Regions from separate parts of the Homo sapiens genome. Here all the other regions are linked to region 1. The links are contacts of gene promoters, found by promoter capture Hi-C in human tissues and cell types (Jung and others, 2019). All regions are on one chromosome and are shown on one strand. The core of a region is centred on a gene start or on the middle of the fragment in contact, and the rest is flanking DNA. Distances in the headings are between cores, read along the strand shown. Region 1 holds the start of KHDRBS3 (KH RNA binding domain containing, signal transduction associated 3). Region 2 has its middle 32 kb from the start of ZFAT. Region 3 has its middle 7.4 kb from the start of NCRNA00250.

Region 1 (5,015 bases), core at 1,741-4,240:
GAAGGTGATCTCATGAAGATGAGCGGAGTGTGCAGCACAGCATGGAGGTGCCCCACAGCCAACGGCTCAGCCAGGTTGGTGGGTGGGGACAATTTCCTGAGCATCTCACAGAGACATTCATCTCCCTCCTCCCCGGAGGACCCTGCATGAGCACTCACAGCGTTTGGCACCTGCCTTCTTGGAAGGTTCTCGGAGAAGGAGGGTCTGGAGCAGAAGATTCAGTGCCCTTGCTGTCAGTTTCCCAGTGCATAGCCCTCCTCCACAGCTGCTGGTGGACTGACTGCCAACTCAGATCAGGGAGGGATGAAGAGCCAGTCAGGAGTGTTCCAGATTGCTACCTGGGAAGGCAGAACCAGGAAGGGAGAGAAAGAAGGGTCAGAGAGTCAGGTGGGCCTGGGATCCCCGCCGACAGCTGTGGAGCCTTAAGCAAGGTGGTATTAAACTGTCCCGGGCCTCAGTTTCCTTCTTTGTAAGTGGTGATCAATAGAATTTTCCTTACAGGGTGTTGCGAGAACCATAGTGAATCCTAAGTCATAAACATAGGGCTGGCACTTAATAAAAATAGTGATTACTCAAGGTCTGGACTGTCACCGGGGCAGATGGTCTGAATGGAAGACACAGAGGGAGAAGAGCTGTTAGAAGAGAGAGAGTCTAAGTGTTCCAATGAAGCCGCTGGGCATCCAGGCCCCATTGTCCTCTTCTAGCCTCATCCCAAACATTCTCTGTCCCCCTTTCCCCCTTTACAAGCAGCTGTCAGGGAACCCTACCATAGAATGTAAGTTCTGTGACACAGGAATATAAGCCAGAGGTGTATGCTTCCCTTCAGTTGTAAAAGGAAAAGACATTGTCCTATGAGTCCCTCCTGTTGTCCAGCAGGACTACTGGCATACCCCTGGTTTTGGGGGTGTGGACTGGGAAGCTCAGGCTCTAAGTTAATTAACAAAGTGGCATAGTGAGGCAGGTAGCAGCCAGGATGCAGGCATCCAGACTCCTGCCCTTCTGGGTGAGGGTGGTTTGGGAAGTGCCCTTTTTGTTTCTGGGGCTGAGAGGCCAGTCATAGACCTGGGATTGAGAAGAGCAGCCACAAGCAGCCTACAAGCCTGACGCTGGGCCCAGGTCAGAAACAGAGGTGCGACAGTCACAGGTCCTTCACTCAGTTGGCCAGGCCGGGGCGAAGCACCACGACCAGCAGTGAGGAGTCCACAGATGGGTGTCTGCCCAGCATCCCTGGAGTTACAGCTGAAGGGAAGGCGAGGGAGGCTCAGAAGGCCCAGAGGACAGCCTTGCAGCCGGAAAAAACCCAAAGCAAAGATCAGCTCAGCATTTCCGATAGGCAGAGTGCTGTTTTGGGTATTTCATTATGAGTTAACATATTTATTCTCATGAACTTCTTATGAAATAAGTTTGGTTGTCATCTCCACTTGACGGATGAGGACCCTGAGGTGAAGAAACTTGCCCAAGGTCACAGCTAGTGAGCAGCAGATCCATGATTCCAAATCCAGGCTGTTTAACCCCAGAGGCTTTGCTTTTAACTGTGCCATTTTTCTGCTTCTTGCAAGTTGAGACTGAAGAGAGCCATGAAGAAGACTCTTACTGGGGACTCTGAAATGACACCTTAGCCGGGGGAGGAGTGGAGCCTTGAGAGTGAGGGCAGTTGAGTACTCGGGTCTGGGACTTAGAGCTTCCAAGATTTCTACCACCTCCCACTCCCCTCGGGTTTGTAAAGCTGCCTCCATTTGCATTGGGAGTGCGGGGGGGCTGCCTGGGGGACTGTGGCGATTGTCCTCAGGCTATTGGCTGAGAGTGGTATGCCACTGACTTATTCCTCCAAGAGACATTTCCAGTACCCTCCATCCCTGCCCCCTGTACTACACACTGGTGACCTTCCCCCTCAAAAACAAAACTCAAACTCTGTCCCTGATGCTCATGGTCTACTGAAAACAGAATTACAGCTGTCTGTGAATGACCTCTGACCAAGCTGGGGGGACACAGAGAAGGGACTTGTGACTTGCTTTGCCAGGGAGGTCCTGAGAGGCTGTCCAGGGAAGGTGACATTGAGGCCGGGACTTGAGCTGGCTGTTTGAAGGCAGGAAAAATGGCAGGGCAAGGACTGGAGTCCTTCGCCTTCCTGGGGGACGTTTATTCCACATGCCTCGGGAAATCTGAAATGGCCTTGGAGAGCATTTGCTGGGGGTTGGGGGTGGGCGGAAGGGGACAGAGAGCATTGCCACCGACAGGCGGGGCGTCCCAGGGCCTCTCCCCAGGAGCGGATGAGCTCAGACGCGGCTCACTCAGCTGTGTCCAGGCACAGCCGGTTTATGACCTAAGAGAATGACAACCCAGGAGCAAGTCGGGATGACAAAGACGCCCAGAAGGGCACGCGCTTTTATGTAACCGACCTCTGAGCTGGCGGATCTCAGGAGGTTGGCGCTCTGAGCTCAGGCGCGGAGAAAGGACGGCGCCCCTGCCTTACTCTCTTATAAGTACGAGGGGACAGCAACGCGACATAACTTAGAGAAGTCCAGGAAGCTTTAGAGAGCAGGGCGGTCCCGCTGCTATTCCTCAGAGCGCGACTGGGGCGAACTGGGGCGCCCTTCCCAGCTCCAGCTCGGCCCTTGTCCCCTCTTCCCAGGATCACTCGCTGGGTGACCTTGGGCGAGCCACTTGACTTCTCTGAGCCCCAGTTTCCCAGTCCGTGCATCTGAAAGGCTGTAATAGCGTCGTGGGGCTCCCCACTCGGCCCTCAGGGCCAAAGGTGGGCGCCGGACACGCGGGAGGGGCCCTTGGACGCACCCCCTCTCGCAAACGCCCGGTTAGTCCCGGCGGACTCGCAGTGGAGAGCGGCCCCAGGAGGCGGCGGGCGGCGGGGCGGTGGGCGCCAGTGCGCAGGCGCGGCGCGGCAGGGCGGGGCGGCGGGCGCGGGGCGGGGCGGGGCGGAGCCGGGCGGGGCGGGGCCGGCGGCAGGCGCTGGGCGCTCGGCGCGGTGGCTCAGAGTGCGCGGGGCGGCGCGCGGCGTGCAGGTCGCAGCTGTGGCTCGGGTGCTGGCAGGTGCTGGCGGGACTGGCGGGGATCGCCGTGGACTGCCTCAGGGGCGCCGCAGCCCGCTCGGCCCGAGGGCCCGCCTAACCGCGCCGCCCGCGCCCGCTCCTCCTCGGCCCGCGCCCGGAGCGCGGGGGCCGCCGGCGCTGGGTACTCGGCGGCCACCGGGGATCGGGGCTGAGCGGTCGGTTCCCGCCCCCGTGCCGCCGCCGCCGCCTTCCGGCCGACCGCCCGGCTTGGCCGCTGCTGCCGCGTCTGGCCCCCGGGTCCCCGCCGCTGGGGGCGCGGGCGGGGTCGGGGGTTGCCGGGCGCCGCCCCCCGTGCGCCTGGAGTCCACATCCCGGGCCCGGCGGCCGGCGAGCATGGAGGAGAAGTACCTGCCCGAGCTGATGGCGGAGAAGGACTCCCTGGACCCCTCCTTCACGCACGCCCTGCGCCTGGTGAACCAAGGTGAGGCGCCGGCCGTTAACTGCCGGCCGGCGGCGGTTGGGGGCCGGGTGGAAACGCGGGGGCCCAGGGGGCCCCTCCGTGCCCTCTGCTGTCAGCGGACGCGGCGGAGACGGAGGCCCGGGTGGCCCCCGGGGTCGTTTGCACGGGGACCTGGGAGGCTGTGGGACACCTAGGGGAAGACCCTGATGTGAATTTTGGGGACTTGGAAGGAGAAGGCTGGGGCGCATGGGTGAGACTTGAAGGAAATCTTTGGGGACTCGGGCACACCCAGGGGAAACTTCTGGGTGGGGGACAGCGACCATCTGGGGGCTTCGTTGGGAACGAGGTTGAATTATGTCATGGAAGGGGAGCGTGTTGGACTCGGGGAAGTAGGGCGTTTGGTTTGTCTAAGGTACTGGAGAAAAAGCTGGAGGAAAATGGAAGGACTTGAGGGACTCAAATGCAGAAGAGGTGAAGGGAACAGGTGCTTGCATTGTTAGCGAAGTTTGGGGACCTTGGAAGAGGGTTGGGGTCAGACCCCAGCACCTGAGAGGAGAGGAGCTCCGTGGTCCCAGGGGAGGAGCCCAGTTCCCCCTCCCAGCCCTTTGTCTCTCCTGTGTCCAGGCTCCAACAGCCCTGGCGGGGCAGTCAGCCCTCCCAGGGGATGGGCAGCCCATGCCAAGCCTTGCAGGCTGGCCCTTGGAGAAGTCAGTAGGGGAGAAGAGGCCGGCAAAAGAGCACCGTTCCGGAGGGCGTTGGGTTGGGTGACCCTCATTGGTGGCTGGCTTGAGGTTCGGAATAGTGGTGAAGGGAGTCCTTGCCATTTTCACACGACTCCAGCCAGCTCAGGGTGTGAAAGATCCTAGGAAGTACTGCGGGTCAGGGATACAGAGATTTCTGGAGGCACGCCTACCCGGGACAGTGTTCCCCTGGCTTTTTCCTCCTGTGGCTTCCTGAATCATCTGCTGGCATGCACGGTAAATTAAGCCTTCCTTCCTGGGAGCAGTCTCCTACTTTTCCTGGAATATGTGTTTCAGATGAAGATGGGTGTGGGTGCCACTGGTCTGTCTTTTCTCTGGGAAATGGCAGCAACATGATCTGGTCAGATCTGTTACCTTTTGCAGGAATTACTGTGCACTGACAGTCTGTGGTTCCCTAGATGAATCGGATCTGCTGCTCTTAGTGCTCGCCCTGGCTTTTTTATTGTTGGAAGTGAAAGATGAGGCAGACATATTCTATTTGTATATAGATACCTATATTTTAAAACAGTGACCTCCAGTTTTTGCCTGTTTCAACCAGTTCTTCAGAGTAGAGTGTGTGTGTGGTTGACCGATGGTGGAGGAGAGACTCTTTACTGTCTCCAAGAATTTAAGAATATTTGAATTGTTGAACAGAAATAGACTTATGGAGCTCCCTCATTTTATTTTAATTGCAGGCTTATTTTTATTTCTTTAATAAAATGGGCTTGTGAAAAAGTGAATGGGCATGCATTCCTAAATAAAAGAAAAAAAATTAAGTTTTATTTCTATGCCCTCTGAACAGTTCTG
Region 2 (5,015 bases), core at 1,260-3,759, 710 kb before region 1:
CTGGCCACATTGATCTCCTTTTTAAAATGCTCCAAGTCACCCATTATCCTCTGATCAGATTCCTGAGCACAGTGGCAAGACTTCCCAGGACCTGGCTCCCACCTCTCTCCAGACTCGCATCCGCCCAGCCCCTCGGCTCTCTGCTACCACGCAATTATTTCATTCCTGAGCTCATCGTTCTCGCACTGCAAGTCTGTGAGCTCTGGCCCCCTGTGCTCCCTTCCCTCTCTTCCTGGAGCTAACTCCTGCTCTAGTCCTTCTGGTCTCAGCTCTGATGCCATATCCCAGACCTTCTGGAGCTGGGCTAGGGTATCACATAGCACATCAGGCTCTCCACTCTGGCCCTGAGTGGCGGTTGCAGTTAAGGAGCTGAGCTCCCCTCCAGCAAGCTCTAAGGGGAGGGCCCTCCTGCCAGCGCCTCACCCAGAGGTCTGGGAGCCTGACACCCATTCAGTGCACGCCCCAAGTGTGCCTCTGTCTCAGGTCCACGTTAGACTTGCCCATTCACAAAGTCCATTGGACTGTCACAACTGCTTCACCCCAGTTGACAGGTGTGAAAGAGTGACACATAATCAAGACTACACAAAAAGTGGCCGATCCATGACTGAAACACGTGGTGAAACCATCTCTATGCCCTTGCAGGTCTCATCACGATTGACTGCAAAGCCTCACTGGTTTGGGTTAATTGTGGCAAAGGCCAATCTAAATTAAGGAAAATGTGCCAGGTGTGGTGGCTCATGCCTGTAATCTCAACACTTCGGGAGGCAGAGGTGGGTGGATCACTTAAGGTCAGGAGTTCAAGACCAGCCTGGCCAACATGGTGAAACCCCGTCTCTACTAAAAATACAAAAATTAGCTGGGTCTGGTGATGGGCGCCTGTAATACCAGCTACTCGGGAGGCTGAGGCAGGAGAATAGCTTGAACCTGGGAGGTGGAGTTTGCAGTGAGCTGAGATCACACCATTGCACTCCAGCCTGGGCGACAGAGTGAGACTCCATCTCAAAGAAAAAAATTTAAAAAAATAAAAAATAAATGAAGGAAAATGTCATTATACTTTAAAAATATATACAACTTATTGTTATCAGTGACATACCTAATTGCAGCAAAGTGTTTCTTGGAAGAATCACTTTAGGGAACAGCTAAGAAGTCTTTGTAATCAGCCTGCTGGTTATTTGTAAAATAGTGCTTTTCACAGTCTCACAGAGTCTCACCTGGGGAGGGGAAGAGGGGGTTTGGAGATTGCTTTGCCCCAGAAGCGTCTGTCTCTCCTCAGCCTGGGCACCAGCCTGCCCAGTCACAGCGAGAAGAGAACCCACTTATCCACCTTTTCCTACTTGCCAGGCTCCTGGGGAGGCAAATCTCCACCCAGGGCTGCCAGAATTAAGACTGCCTTTCTTTTCTGGCCAAAAGGGCACACTGGTTTCTTATTGCAATGGCATAGAACATGTGGCTATCACGAGAGGGTGACAAGGACAGGCCAAACAGGTTTCTTGCTCCTCCGTTTGTTTTCTATTGCTACATAACACATCACTGCAAACTTAGTGACTGCAAGCTACACAAATTTATTATCTCACACTTTCCATGGGTCAGAAGTCCGGGCATGAGTTAACTGAATTTTCTAGTCAGGGTCTCACCATTTTAATGGGTAGTTGCTCTGCATTCCCCTCTGAGGCTCAAGGTCTTCTTCCAAGCTCACTGGTGGTTGGCAGAATTCATTTCCTTATGACCGTATGACTGAGGCCCCCATCTTTTTGCAGGCTGTTGTTCTTGCTGGCTGTTGGCTGGAAGCAACTCCTAGAGGCTAAGAGTTTTTTTTTTTTTTTTTTGAGATGGAGTCTTGCTCTGTTGCCTAGGCTGGAGTGCAGTGGCATAATCTTGGCTCACGGCAACCTCTGCCTTGCAGGTTCAAGCAATTCTCCTGCCTCAGCCTCCTGAGTAGATGGAATTACAGGCACCCGCCACCATGCCCGGCTAATTTTTGTATTTTTAGTAGAGATGGGGTTTCATCACATTGGCCAGGCTGGTCTCAAACTCCTGACCTCAAGTGATCCACCTGCCCCAGCCTCCCAAAGTGCTGGGATTACAGACGTGAACCACTGCGCGCAGCCTGAAGGCTAAGAGTTCTTTGTCACATTGCTTTCTACACAGGCCCCCTCACAACAAAGCAGTTTACTTCTTCAAAGTCAGCAGGAAAATCTTTTGTACTTCAAATCTCTTCCTTCAGGAAGGGCCTACTCTCCTTTTTTTTTTTTTTTTTTTTGAGACGGAGGCTTGCTCTGTCACCTAGGCTGGAGTGCAGTGGCCTGATCTCGGCTCACTGCAACTTCCACCTCCTGGGTTCATGCCATTCTCCTGCCTCAGCCTCCCAAGTAGCTGGGACTACAGGCGCCCGCCACCAGGCCCGGCTACTTTTTCGTATTTTTAGTGGAGATGGGGTTTCACCATGTTAGCCAGGATGGTCTCGATCGCCTGACCTCGTGATCCGCCCACCTCGGCCTCCCAAAGTGCTGGAATTACAGGCGTAGCCACCGCGCCCGGCCAGGAAGGGCCTACTCTCTTGTAAGGGCTCGTCTAATTTGCTCAGGATAATCTCCTTTTGATTAACCCTATGTCACCTGATTTGGTACATCAATTATATCTGCAAAATCCCTTCACCCCTTTACCTAATTGTGGGAATGAAATCTACCACATTTACAGCCCTGCTCACACTTGAGGGAAGGGAATCATATGGCATGTTCACCAGGGGTGGAGCCTGGAATTCTGTCTACCACGGTTCCCTGGTCTAACTCCTTAAGACGTGCAATGCCAAGCAGGATCCAGGTATCCTTGCACTGCTCTTGCCATCTGCTGGGTGGGATTCTGCAATGGTTAAGACAGTCCTGGACCCTAAAGCTGGCCTAGCTTGCTTGGTTTCGAATGCAGAAAGGTTCTGCCCTGAGTCTACAGCTGAGTGAATGTTCCAGTAAGGAGGTGGGAGAGGTAATGGTCAAAGCTGGGTTAAGACTTTATTACTTTCTCTATGACAGAGAAAGGGAAAAGAGGAGTTAGTGAGGACATGAGATCACAATGTTCTTTGACCTATTTTGGTTAGCAAAAAGTGCCGTGGACTCCCCAGTTTCACAGTGATGTTCAACATGGGCTAATGTGATTTCTAGGCAGAGGAGCTTTTATCAGATCATAAAAAGCCAAGGTTCAGGATTTTGCTTGCTGCCTTGCAGGTTTGCAATCTAAGGTCTCACTGAAGGGATTTCCTCAAGGGTTACCAATAATAGCATTACTTTATTTACTCATCCAAAACATCCTGTGAGATGAGTATATTATTATTATTATTCCCATTTTATAAGTATGGAAACTGAAGCTCAGAGAGGTTAAGTAACCTGCTTAGTCACGCAGCTATTTAGTATAGAAAGATGGGGTTGGTTGCAGTCTGTCTGGCTCCAAAGCCTTTGCTGGTTACCATTTATGAGGCAGTTTCTTAGTTTTTCACATCAGCCCCTTTGCCTGTGCTCTTCCTGCTCTCTGGGACTCTGCCTAATACTTTACAAGAAAGCCCCTTCCAGGTTTCATTGGCCCTGAGTGTAAAACTTCTTTAATTTGGAATCTACCATTATATTGATTTCCTCTCAATTCCGCTCTTTGCAGTACATTGAAAAAGCAACCAACCAACCAATCAATGAAAAGAACCTCCTCCTTTTGCAAGACATTCAAATGTTTAACAGCAGCTCTCATGTTCTCTCTAGGACTAAATCTTGCTAGGTTTTCTCACCATTCCTCACATGACTTGATTTCCTGATCATCTGTAATTCTATTTGCCCTCTGGTTAATCTTTGATTTATCATTTTCTGCTGAAAACAAGATGCCCCAAATTGAAGACTGTTTGTGCTATGTCTAAAACGTAGAACACCGCAAGACCATCACCCACCTGATATGGATACTATGGCTGTGTTAATGTACCCTAAAATCGCATTAGCTTTTTAAACAGCCAAATCACATTGTTGGCCCATATTTAAATTGCACTTGGCTAACACTTTGGGTCTTTCTCCACTAAACTAATGTCAAGCCACAGCCTCTCAATACTGACCTTGTGTTGCTGAACTTTTTTTTAACCTAGTTTTCATTTCCTTTCTGCCCTCTTTTGGAACATGTTCAAATCCTTGTAAGTCTGAATCTCCAATGCAGTGTCTTAGTTCTTCCCCCAGTGCTGAGTCATCTGTACAGTTCATAAGTAAGTTTTTTAGCTCTTCAGCCAGATATCAATCAAGTGTTACAATGGACGAGTTGAAGAGTAGAGTTATTTAAGGTTGTTATGACAAGTTAAATAACTGAACAATTAAAAATTGTTAATCCCTTAATTGAACTAGAATCCACGCTTTGTGAAAATTGAGCTATAATATGTCTGCGACATTCCCTTTATTCATGAACTTAGTGATTTCCTTAAAATGGAGATGAGATTAATGATAAATAATTTTCCCTAGAAAAGCTGTGCTGATTCTTAGTCACTACTACTGATTATAAACTACCTGTTAAAAATCAGAGCCTAATGTTTTATCAGGGATTGATACTATTATAATTTGTTCCTGGAATATGCCTTTTTTCTAAAGATCTTTTTTTTTCTTTTTGAGATAGGGTCTTGCTCTGTTGCCCAGGTTGGAGTGCAGTGGCATGATCATGGCTCACTGCAGCCTCGACCTCCCAGGTTCAAGTGATCCTCCCACCTCAGCCTCCCAAGTAGCTAGAACCACAGGCACATGCCACCACACCCAGCTAATTTTTAAAAATTTTTATACAGATGAGGTCTCACTGTGTTGCCCAGGCTGGTCTCAAACTCCTGGACTCAAATGATCCTCCCACCTCAGCCTCCCAAAGTGCTGGGATTACAGGCATGAGCCACTGCACTCAGCCTCTAAAGATCTTTAGAGTGTTTGAAAACCTTGTTTAAGCATCCTTTCTGAAATCTTATATAGATTATTAATTGGCTTATATGAATATTTTTCCTAATAGATTTTTAAAAAGCA
Region 3 (5,015 bases), core at 1,685-4,184, 630 kb before region 1:
TCTTCATTTTTACTCATTTGTTCAATTGAGGAACTAAGAGCCTGTACTAAAAAAATCAATGGCACCATTCAAGCTGTTCCTTCCATTTTTATAATATTCAATTATGCTAAGAGGTATGAAACCGTGCCCAGTATCCCGAAGTTGGGCTTTTGACCCATATTCAGTATTAAAATAATTTCTTGCTTTCTAATGTATAAAAACAAAACAAAATACTATTAAGCATTCTGAAGATATTTTTTACTTCTTGTATGCCCTGATGCTTAGCTCTTATCCTTCAAACCCCTTCTCTAAGAATAAAATTTCTCGAAAACTAGGAAAAGGTGAAGGCGTCACTGTTACCCAAGCCAGGCATGAACAGTATAAATCAAATGAAACTTGATTAGTTATCCTTAATAAAGTTTGCAGCTACTTCCTCCCTTTCCTCCTTATCCCCACATGAAGTACGAACTAACCCACAAATAAGTTCTCCTATTAACTCACATTCCTTTTTTTTCTACATAAGCAAAGCAAAATGATTTCTGAATTAAACTTCCCAAGTACTTCATTCATCATCTCCTGCAATTCCAAATAAACGCAAATGCATTAACACAAAGGGAAAAAACTCCTTTGAAAGAATACATAGTTGTTCTTTTACCAAAATAGCATTTTTCACAAGTGACTCAAACAGAATTACAGCTTAGGAAAATCAAGCCTTTAATTCTGAAGAATAATTTGCACCTACAGAAAATTTCAAGGTAACGGTTTTTACTGCTTGTGGACTTTAGACCAAATCTACTTATTTTGATTTTGCTGAAGTTTGGGTATAACTGCTTGTTGGCCTCTGCTGGGGGACCACTGTCCTAGTGAGAGTGTCTGACAACAAGGTGCTTTTGATACTCCACTAACTAAACTACCTTGGATGAGGTTCCTGACAAACCTGATCATAAAGTTTTACTCAATGGTGAAAAGCATTTTAATTAGGCTTCAATGTACTCCTTAAATCAGGCTTGTCCAACCCATGGCCCAGGACAGCTTTGAATGAGGCCCAACACAAATGTGTAAACTTTCTAAAAATATGAAATTTTTGTTGCAATTTTTTAAGCTCATTAGTTATTGTTAATGCATTTGATGTGTGGCCCAAGACAATTCTTCTTCTTCCAACGTGGCCCGGGGAGGCCAAAAGATTGGACACCGCTGCCTTAAATGATATGGGATAAATCAGATGACAATTTTCCCACTCAGTTAAACCATTATAGGTGGCATATAAGTGGAACAACACTGAATTTAACTTTGTCCCCAAATACTTTTGGTAAAGAGAGAACTCAAAGAACACACTGATAACCCTTACATATGCCAAAAATCTGTTCCTAAATTGTTGTATGCCAACTGATTATTCACAAATCAAATCACATTAGATAAATACCATTTAAAGGGATTAAGTATTTGAAAACAACTTTTAGTGAATCCCTTTTTTAAAATTCTCACATAATATAACCAACTAGTAATTAATTTGTTTTGCAATCTTACACTTTTAAATGTCAAATTTCTTAAAGTAGAGCACAGCTGTTTTCATAAGCTGAAACATTCACATCACATTACTGCCCTTCTTTCTAGTGCCCCTCAAGCAAGCTCTAAAAATGTCACCCAAAAAATGAGTTGTTCACCTGTGGTAGAATATACAAGAAATACTAGAAAAATTGAAAAATAAGCAATTCTTAAAAATGTAATATAGAAATGTGTGTATAGTATTTCAAAAAAAGTCAAAGAATTATTTTATTTTTGGCCATGATCACAATAAACGCTCGATAAAAATGATTTTTTAAAAAACCAAGATACGCACAGCCCAAATCACTTTCCCATGTGTTTTTACCACCTGGAGTAAACCGTTCAAGAACTGTTTATCTCCATGAACATATGACCTCCACGATGCCACCAAGGTCAACAAGACCTACAGGAGGGGGACATGCTAAGTGTTGATTTGTCCAATTCTACAGTTCCCTTGAAAAAGAGAGAAGAGAGAAAAACATAAAAATTTATTTATATATTACAAGAAATAATCTTTTCAGGTTGTAACAATTAAGTACCCCACTACAGGACTGTATACAGACATATGTCAGCTATGGCCAATAGGAGCAAGATGTAAAAGAGACCTCACAGCACAAAAGTAGCTGCACAGAAAGAATTAACAAGATCCCAAACGGACTGATCTCTCTCTGCATCTGGTACTGAAAACTTTTGGTATCCCGGCTACATGCCACAAGGACTCAATTTCAAAGTGAGGGTCCTCTGTTGAGGAAACTTTTTGAAAATGACAAATAACCAAAGATACATAATCAACAGAAAAAGCACCCACATATCAGAAATGCTTAGGTAAGGAGCAAGTGAGTATATGCCGAGACTGCTGGTTAACACCAAATTCACAGGTTGTTCTCTTATTCTCTACCAAAAATTCTCTCTGGCATTTCCTCAGCTATCATCACAATCCTGCACCTTTCACAAACCAGGAAGTTTTCTTAGATGAGATTTAAATTTTAAAACACATCCACTTGGGATAATGTTTATGCTAGACTTAAGTTCAAAAAATCCCTATCAGCTTGAAACCATTATATCGGTAATTTCCAGGTAACATTCAAATATATATATTTTTAAAGACATGCCACAGCTAGTACCTGATTTAGTGATTTAGTGGAGAGTTTAACTATGGATAATTCATTCTAACGTTTGGTAAACAGGTAGCATACACATACATGATGACAGTGTAAAATTAAACAGGAAAAAAATCAGCAAAAGCACTGGTTATTCACAATCAGCACAGGACTGTCTCGTAAATTACTTTCAGAGAAGCTCCAAACTGGTGGGTGGCACCGGGTCAATGCGATTACTTAACCCTGGCAGTTACAACTAAACTCCACTTTGATGGTATCCAAAGCTTATTACAAAAAGATGACTGCTTGGGCATATCAAGTACTTCGGTGTCCTCCTATTTTGTTCCCACGGAACACGGAGCCTGACACCTGAAACTCTTCAGACACACATCACCTTGCTTCGGGGCTTTAGAATTTTGTGTATATTATTTGTAAAGTCCACTGGACATAAATTCAGTTGTGTGTGTACAGGATTAATGTATTTCCTGCATGCACAAGTGAAGAACTCATGTCAAATCAAGCAGTTCCCTCTCTCCCAAGTAACTTTTTTATCATTTAGTCCTAAAATAACCATAAGCAACAAACATTAAACACTGGCATAGCAACGTGCACACATCATGCCCTGGTGCTACACACAGGCGGATTCGTTCATCTCTGGTCCCCATCCAGACGGGTGCTCCCGGCCTCTCTCACTCCCGGCCGGTCCAGCCTGGCTTCACCCGAGTTTTGCTGTGAAATCCGCCACTTTCGCTGGCCCCGGCAAAAAGCAAGGCGCCTCGTCCCGAGGGCAGAGTTTCTTGCAACTGCCGGATAAACATTTCCCGAAAGCTTCCCGCGGCCCCCACGCCCGGTCCCCCCACTTCACGAGCCCCGGGGAGGGGCCCACCTGCCTCCCGCCGCCCGCCCCATACCCTGTCGCCGCGGCTGCACTCCAGGGCCGCACCGCAGCGCCCACTTCCCGGCCCCGAGCCCCCCACGACTCGGACGCCCGACCCTGAGGGACGGGGGCGCCAAAAAAGCACCCCCCGACACAAGTGACCCCACGACGCCCCCCAGAGGCCGTGTCCCGAGAGCCTGTCAGCGCCCCGGAAGGGGGTCAGGCGGGGGGCTGAGCGCCCGGTGTCCTCTCCGCTCCGGACGCCCTCTCCCGCCCCAAGGCACTCACCTGGCCCGGGGTCGGGGGTCGGGCGAGGAGGCCGCCGGCCCGCCGCGGCCCCCACCCTCCCGCTCCCAGCGCCCCGCGCCCCGAGCCCGAGGCGCGCCTGGAGCGGCCGGGGGAGAGGGCGCGGGGACGCGCCAGCGCCAGGGTGAGGGGCGCGCGAGGGGCGGGGGGCAGGGGGCGCGGCGAGAGCTGGGGATCGGCGGCGTCCGCACTGAGAAAGCAGCCTCCGCCGCGTCCGTCATGGCGCGCGGCGGCGGCAGCGGCTCCCTCCGGTCTCTCTGCTCCCTCGCCTTTAGTTTGACCTTTCCCTCCAGTGTGTCTGAGGGAGAGCGGCTGTGCGCGCGCGTGTACATGTCTCTGTGTGTGTGTGCGCGCGCGCGTGGGGAAGGGGCCGGGTTCGCTCCCCGACGCCTGACGTCACTGCCATGGCAACGGCAACCCCCGCCCCTCGCTTCCCATTTCCTGTCCCCGCCCACTGTGCACGTTCTGGGGCCCTCACGTGCTCACTCACACGCACGCACGCAGGCACGCACTCTCGGGGCGCGCGCGCCCAGAGCGCTGGGGTTTGGGAGGTAATTTGGACCTCCGCCTGCCTCCCTTCCCTCGCTGCCTCCCGGAATTTGACCAATCCCGTGAGGAGGAGCCGTGGGCGGGGCGGGCTCGGCTCCCGGAGTGGCGTGAAAAATTTCCCGAGGCAGAGCGAAAAGTCTTCATGCGTTACTGAGCATGTCCGGTGCCCGAAGGGGCGCTTTGGACGCCAGTGAAGCGAGGAGAGGCGGAGAAGGAACCGAGCGGGCAGTTGAGGGAAATCTCGGAGGAGGTTACCTGCGATCAAACTGGGGCTGCGTAGTGTTAGGGTCAGGCAGCTTTGAAGTGGAATCCGGATCCGCCACTCTCGCTGCGTGATATTGGGCATGCCATCAAAGCGCTCTCAACCGAACGTCTCGGGTAAAATGGGATTAGTGAAGTCTACCAAGGTAGTTGTGAGGATCAAAAGAGATAACGCGGAAAACGCCTCACCTGGCACGTTATAGATCCTAAATGCCTAGCTATTATTATGGAGCCCACAACCTCCATATTTTACAACTGGGAACACGGGACTCAAAGAGATTAAAAAACTAAATGACTCACTCAAGGTCAGGTAGTGGTGGAGACCCAGGCTTCAAGTTCAATACTCTTTGTCCTACAAAGCCTTCCCTTAAGCAGGGGTAATAAAACATTTCAGAAAA

What was found. The method cuts DNA at HindIII sites, captures the fragments that hold promoters and counts their contacts. A contact is called where the count stands out against the background at its distance.
Region 2: a fragment that was not itself captured here is called in contact with the fragment with the promoter of KHDRBS3 in region 1 in 1 of the 25 tissues and cell types used here (dorsolateral prefrontal cortex).
Region 3: a fragment that was not itself captured here is called in contact with the fragment with the promoter of KHDRBS3 in region 1 in 1 of the 25 tissues and cell types used here (dorsolateral prefrontal cortex).

What each region holds. Positions count from the first base shown.
Region 1 is chr8:135,454,466-135,459,480 of GRCh38, forward strand. It overlaps KHDRBS3 (KH RNA binding domain containing, signal transduction associated 3), which reads left to right and starts at 2,991. Exons shown (of 9, transcript NM_006558.3): 1 at 2,991-3,489. The coding sequence starts at 3,402. LOC101927872 (a long non-coding RNA gene) reads right to left here and starts at 3,510. Exons shown (of 4, transcript XR_002956731.2): 1 at 3,417-3,510; 2 at 159-338. RefSeq lists a silencer at 2,863-3,162. The HindIII fragment of the contact is 4,912 bases long and covers 921-5,015 here.
Region 2 is chr8:134,742,488-134,747,502 of GRCh38, forward strand. It overlaps a transcript of ZFAT not described here. Among named protein-coding and RNA genes, the nearest start is that of ZFAT, 32 kb to the left of the region's middle. The HindIII fragment of the contact is 5,573 bases long and covers 1-5,015 here.
Region 3 is chr8:134,828,193-134,833,207 of GRCh38, forward strand. It overlaps a transcript of ZFAT not described here. Among named protein-coding and RNA genes, the nearest start is that of NCRNA00250, 7.4 kb to the right of the region's middle. RefSeq lists a silencer at 3,487-3,976. The HindIII fragment of the contact is 4,779 bases long and covers 546-5,015 here.